Linked DNA regions of Homo sapiens: region 2 is linked to region 1. Evidence: promoter capture Hi-C in human tissues and cell types (Jung and others, 2019). All regions are on one chromosome and are shown on one strand. The core of a region is centred on a gene start or on the middle of the fragment in contact, and the rest is flanking DNA. Distances in the headings are between cores, read along the strand shown.

Evidence for each region. The method cuts DNA at HindIII sites, captures the fragments that hold promoters and counts their contacts. A contact is called where the count stands out against the background at its distance.
Region 2: a contact is called between a fragment that was not itself captured here and the fragment with the promoter of LSM6 in region 1, in 1 of the 25 tissues and cell types used here (hippocampus).

The regions. Positions count from the first base shown.
Region 1 is chr4:146,174,120-146,177,195 of GRCh38, forward strand. LSM6 (LSM6 homolog, U6 small nuclear RNA and mRNA degradation associated) reads left to right here and starts at 1,599. Exons shown (of 4, transcript NM_007080.3): 1 at 1,599-1,692. RefSeq lists a silencer at 1,749-1,808. The HindIII fragment of the contact is 5,524 bases long and covers 1-3,076 here.
Region 2 is chr4:147,590,611-147,593,960 of GRCh38, forward strand. All of the region lies in intron 3 of LINC02507 (long intergenic non-protein coding RNA 2507), which reads left to right. Among named protein-coding and RNA genes, the nearest start is that of LINC02507, 23 kb to the left of the region's middle. The HindIII fragment of the contact is 8,929 bases long and covers 1-3,350 here.

The sequences.
Region 1 (3,076 bases), core at 349-2,848:
GACTTTAAGGCTCCTTAATAAATTAATGTTTACATTCAGGGTTTTGAAGACTAGTATTCACCAAAAGTCTTGCAGTGTTTTCTTTGCATCATAAAAGATGCTGAAAGCAAAAACCTGGGAAATACGGAAAATTGCCTTGTGAGTTAGTAAAAGTCATTTATAAGCTGCTGAGGGGCTTTTGGGAACAGCCACACTTTTTATAAGCTTGTTAGCTCATGAATTAATTCAGGATGCCCACCCCGTGTGTCAAACTGGGCCCTTACCCAGCTACTCCCCTTAGAGAAGGTTGCAGCTGCTCAGCAGATGAACTAGGCCCTTAAAACTCCTCATGGCTCCCTACCCACCACACTAGTGTTAACGGCTCGATTAGGGCTCTGTAGGAAAGGGAAAGAAGTTTGAATCAAAAATTTTCTTTTTTTTTTTAATAATTTAAACAATCAGTAAGGAATGTGCAATTTGATGTCGTTTGCAAAGAAAGTTTTTAGGAACAGGGCTTTTTATCCTATTATGTTTGTTCTTTGCACGTAATTATTTGATTTAAATGGTACTTTTCTTAAAATTTTTATTTACATTGTATTTTATATTGCAAGAACTTCAAATACAGCCCTCACAATAAATCAGTAACTGTTCGGTCTTTATCCAAACTGAACTTTTATAGAAGGATATAAGGAAGTCTCTATTCTTTAACAAATCATATCCAGTTGTTTTCTGTCCCTGATATCAATCAAAAGTTCATTTCTTCTGCCTTTAACCAAAAGAAGTTTACAAGGGAGGAACTCTTTATCTTCGAAAAAAATTTTGCATCTTAGATTTTATAACACCTAATGGGGTTAAGGATCTGTGTTGAAAGATCTTATCACTCTGTGTATAGTGTTACAAATCATAAATATAATTAAAGTATAAGTTTTCAACTGATGAGAGTATATGTGGAGGGGGAAAAACGAATCAAGTCCTGGTGTAACAGTTCTCTTCTTTTTCCCTTTCAATTCCATTAATAGAAAGAGTATTGAGAATTCATGCAAAATTCCAAACCAAGTTCCCATAGTAGCACTGAAATAAGTCTGCACACCATTTCCAATAGGAACTAGTAATGTAACACAATTAATGTCATTATAATTTGGAGTTACTTGAGTGATTTTGATTATTTTTGTATCAATTAACATTGCCATGGAAACAGTCTCTTGCTAAAATGGCTTAAGTCTTCACACATTTAATCAATATCCAGAGGTAGATTTAAAGACTTGAGGTGTTTCATTTATTTATTTATTTGCTTTAAACTATTCAAGGACGTTTCTGGGTACACAATGCCGTTACTTAAACAGTAAATTCCAGTTTCCTATGACTTCAAGTTATTTTTTACACTTCTGTAAATAAATCCTGCCCAAAAGATCACTTCTAGTTTCCTGGAATTTTGTTTTTGTTTTGTATTGTATTTGTTTTGTACTCAGATTTCTGTTAGAGGAACTCCACTGCACCAATTTTGCTACTAGACAAACCAGGAATCTTGGATTTGCGCGCTTTGGTGCTGACAGGCTTTTTCGGCCCCAGCGGGCTGCCGTAGCAGAGAAGAGCACTGATTGGCTGAGGCAGAAAAGTGCCCCTGCCTCGGCGCTTTCGGTTTTGGCTGGGATCATCCGCGGCGGCCGGGCTCGTGGGGCGCCTGGAGTGAGGGTTCTGGTTCCCGCCGGCGAGGTGAGCCGCACCGCTGCGCGGGCCGACGACGGGGCCGGGCGCAGCCCCAGGTTCGGTGCCCCAGTGTTCAGTCGCGCTGTGGAGCGGCGGCTGCAGCGGCCCTAGGCCGGGCGAGGCAGCCCCGGAAAGGGCCTGCGGTGAACAGGCTGGGGCTCCGGGAAGGGACCGCTGGGTGGCGGGTCCCCGCGAAATGCCGCGTCCAAGCTCTCCGCGCATGGAATGGCTGGGAGAGGTCTGATGGTGGGCGCCGGGACCGCCCTCAGCGAGGCGCCTAGACTGCGCGGAGAGGAGCGGCACCGTCCCGGCTCCTACCGAGTTGGCGTCCGAGATCAATTCAGGTTGTTGAAGTTCCCCAGGGAGCCCCGACGCTAATCCCAAGATTCGGCGGGAAAGCGGATCCCGAACCCAGGCCTAGGCTTCGCCTGTCTTCCAGGAGGGCTTCAGGGAATTGCGAACCCTCTCCTACATCGGGGTGGCTGCGCCTGACCACAGGAATTAAAGGCTGGACTCGCCTGTCTTACCAAGTTGTCAGGTCGAGGAACCCGATTGTATGGTCTTAAGTCCTATCGCCCAAGGTTTTCTGTGCGTATGCGTGTCCGCACACCTGCATAGCAGGCATTTTTAAGGTGTGTAGGATTAAGATGATGCGGATTACCCTGCCCCACTGCTCTTAGTAATACGTGACTATTGTAGAAAATTGCAAACATAGAAGACTTTAGTGAAGAAAATAATATTCACTGAACCCTTTCACCTACGATCATTTTCTCTTGTATGTGCTAGCTTCTACTTGAACTAAGAGTGTACATGTTTAATCACTTAACAGTGTAGTTTTCCACTTCCATTTAAAAACTCTTCCTAAATATTATTCTAATTTTGTATCTTCTTTTGATTGTCCTATCATTGTGGGTCCCAGTTTAGGTCCCGTAAATTATTCAGTCATTTCCCGATTGTGGGACATTAGATTGTTTTTGAATTTTTACATCATCTTAGCATCCCAGATAGTGCTTTGATAAACTCTTTTCCCCCTATTTTTTAGATTATTTCCTTGGACTAGATTCTCAGAAGTGAAATTATCAGATTAGATGCTGTCATCTGAAAGGTCTGTTTTAGGCCTTCATACACATTGCTGCAGTGTTTTCCAAAAAAGTTTTAGAGATGTTTGGTAATTTTACTTGCTTAAATATTGTGCAGAAATCTTGAGAGGCTTGTGTTTGTGGTGTGTGTGTGTGTGTGTGTGTCACTGGCGTTAATGCGTTAGACTACCTGAATGTTAGGGCAGGAAGAGACTTAAGTGGTCATCTGGCATAACTCCCTTATATTGCAGATGAGGAACCTGGGGCCATGAGAAGTGAAATTATGAGTTATCCAAGTCACACAGCTAATT
Region 2 (3,350 bases), core at 764-3,263, 1.4 Mb after region 1:
ATTACAGATAGAACTTTTTTTAAGTTTTTTAACTATAATATACTTTTTTTTCCCTTAGGGTGTCGCTCTGTTGCCCAGGCTGGAGTGCAGTGGCGTGATATGAGCTCACACCGCAACCTCCGCTTTCTGGCTCAAGCCATCCTCCAGCCTCAGTTCCCGAGTAGCTGGGACCACAGGCACGAGGCACCACACCCACTTCTTTTTTATTTTTTCTTTTGTATTTTTTTGTAGAGATAGGGTTTCACCATGTTGCCCAGGCTGGTCTCCAACTTCTGAACTCAAAGAGATCCGCCCACCTCGGCCTCCCAAAGACCTAGGATTACAGGCGTGAGCCACTGCGCCTGACCAAATATATCTTTTAAGAATAAATAATCTAGTAAGGTTATTGATGAGTCATTATATCACCTGATACAATTTTTAACATTCATATATTTTCAGGAATATGAATTTTCAGTCATATTTCCTCTTTTTAACTACTTTTACAGTTCTCTAAACAATGCTTCAAAAACATTAACAGAAAAAAATATTTAATCAGTGATACAAGAGAAGACTGTTTTATATGCTTTTCTTTGACAACTAGCAGCACATTGATGCAAGAGTTTATAGACAAAATGGTGATTCATAGTAACTGTAATCTTCTCTGTGTTTATTGTACTTTACACCCATCTTATCTAATCCTCTCAACCACCCTGTTAAATTCAGAATCAGTATCTCCATTCTACAGATTAGAAAACTGAGGCTTCAGGATATGAAATAACTTGTTCAAGGTCACTCCTCTGGTGAGTGACAGAATGGACTCAACCCTGGGCCTGCCTGCTCCAATGCCTAGGCATAGGGTCAGGCTGGTGATAGGCCCTTTTTAAAGATTGGCTGATTCAATGAGCAAATGCATCTACTGTGAGAATATTAAAGGTAAGCCTGGACTGGATCCAAAGTCTTCTGACTTGATAACCAGTAAATCTTCCAGTAAAGTTTAGACATATTTTGAACTTTCTCTTGTTTCTGCCTGCAGTTGCACTCTCCTGAGCCTGCTAAGTCCCCACTATTTTCTACAAAAGAACAAAGAAAAAATACCAGGCGAGAGTGACCCATAGCCTGAGCCCCAGGCTGTTTTACCCACGAGGCCCTAGCAGGGGATCTTTTCCACTTTTGTGCCATAGATCCCTTTGGAAGCCTAAGTGAAGCTCCTGGAACTTTTTTAAAATGCCCCACAAAGAAAGCCAACTATTTTAAAATAAAATTTTCAAAAAACTTTTAAAAACTCGGCCGGGCGCAGTAGCTCACGACTGTAATCCCAGCACTCTGGGAGGCTGAGGTGGATGGATCACTGAGGTCAGGAATTTGAGACCAGCCTGGCCAACATGGTGAAAACCCATCTCTACTAAACACACACACACACACACACACACACAAAATTAGCTGGGTGTGGTGGCACACGCCTGTGATCCCAGCTACTTGGGAGGCTGAGGCAGGAGAATCTCTTGAGCCCAGGAGGCGGATGTTGTGGTGAGCTGAGATTGCACCACTGCACTCCAGCCTGGGTAACAGAGCAAGAGTCATCTCAAAAAAAAAAAAAAACTTTAAAATACTAATTTGTAAATATGTGCTTATTTATTAATGCATTTAATAACAAGATTTAATAACAATGTCACAACTATATATTCAAAGTAGCAATTAGTATAAATGATGTTTTGGGATATTCGTAATCCCTGTAATGTGACATGAATATATCTATTGTTTCTATTGGTGAGAGAGATATTGTTAATATTAATGTGATGTATGGCCTATATTCTTTAATAAATAAAATTACAAATTTCAGTTTGAAGTTAATGAAAACAGATTTTTTTCATCCAAGTTCATGGACCTTCTTACCCTCCTGAATTAAGAAATCAAAGCTAATCTTAAATAAGTCACAGCTAAATCTTTTCAAAAACTAAAAAATTTTAAAATTCTTAAATTCTGTCAAAAAAATGCTTAAGCAATATATATATGTTTCCCTTGATTAGTGTGAGATATTCACTTTAATATGAATATTATGAATAATATGAATATTCACTTTAATATGAATAATATGAAGCAAGACTCCAAAAATAAGCATGGATCTAGGACCTAGGGAGATGTTAAAACAACCTTGCCTGAGTCTCATGACAGTAATCAACAAATAATAGTATTATTTGCCCATAATAATAATTCAGTTTGTATGCATCTGACAAAGGACTAATATCCAGAATCTACAAGGAACTCAAACAAATCAGCAAGGAAAAAAAACAAACAAACAAATAATCCCATCAAAAAGTGGGCTAAGGACATGAATAGACAATTCTCAAAAGAAGATATACAAATGGCCAACAAACATATGAAAAAAAAGTTCAATATCACTAATTATCAGGGAAATGCAAATCAAAACAACAGTGAAATACCACCTTACTCCTGAAAGAATGGCCATAATTTAAAAATCAGAAAATAACAGATGTTGGTGTGGATGTGGTGAAAAGAGTGCATTTTACACTAGTGGTGGGAATGTAAACTAGTACAACCACTATGGAAAACAGTGTGGAGATTCCTTAAAGAACTAAAAATAGAACTACCAGTTGATCCAGCAATCCCCCTATTGGGTATCTGCCCAGAGGAAAAGAAGTCAATATAAGAAAAAGACACTTGCACACGCATGTCTCTAGCAGCACAGTTCGCAATTGCAAAGATATGAAACCAGCCTAAATGTCCATCAGCCAACAAGTGGATAAGGAAAATGTGGGATATATAACTACTCAGCCTCAAAAAGGAAAAAAATAATGGCATTCGCAGCAACCTGGATGGAGTTGGAGACCATTATTCTAAATGAAGTAACTCAGGAATGGAAAACCAAACAGGAATGGAAAACTAAGCTATGAGGACGCAAAGGCATGAGAATGATATAATGGACTTTGGAGACTCAGGGGGAAGGTTGGGAGAGGGCCAATGGATAAAAAAGTACACATTGGGTACAGTGTACATTGCTCAGGTGACAGATGCACCAAAATCTCAGAAATCACCACTTAAGAACTTTTCCATGCAACCAAACACTACCTTTTCCCTCAAAACTATTGAAATATAATAGAAATAAAAGAATAAAAAAATCATAATAATAATTCAGTTTGACATGACAAACATTGAGCAGCTACTATGCTAGACACACTACTAGTGTTTTTAAAAATACATTTTAAAAGTGAATACTTCTTTGTCATTTGTGCAGCATTTATCATTTTCAAAGCAGTTCTACACACATCTTTCTTTCAAATCTAATTACAACTTCAAGGGGCAAGGCAGGGTCTGGAGACTTATTCATTAATTCTGCATTCCCACGATAAATC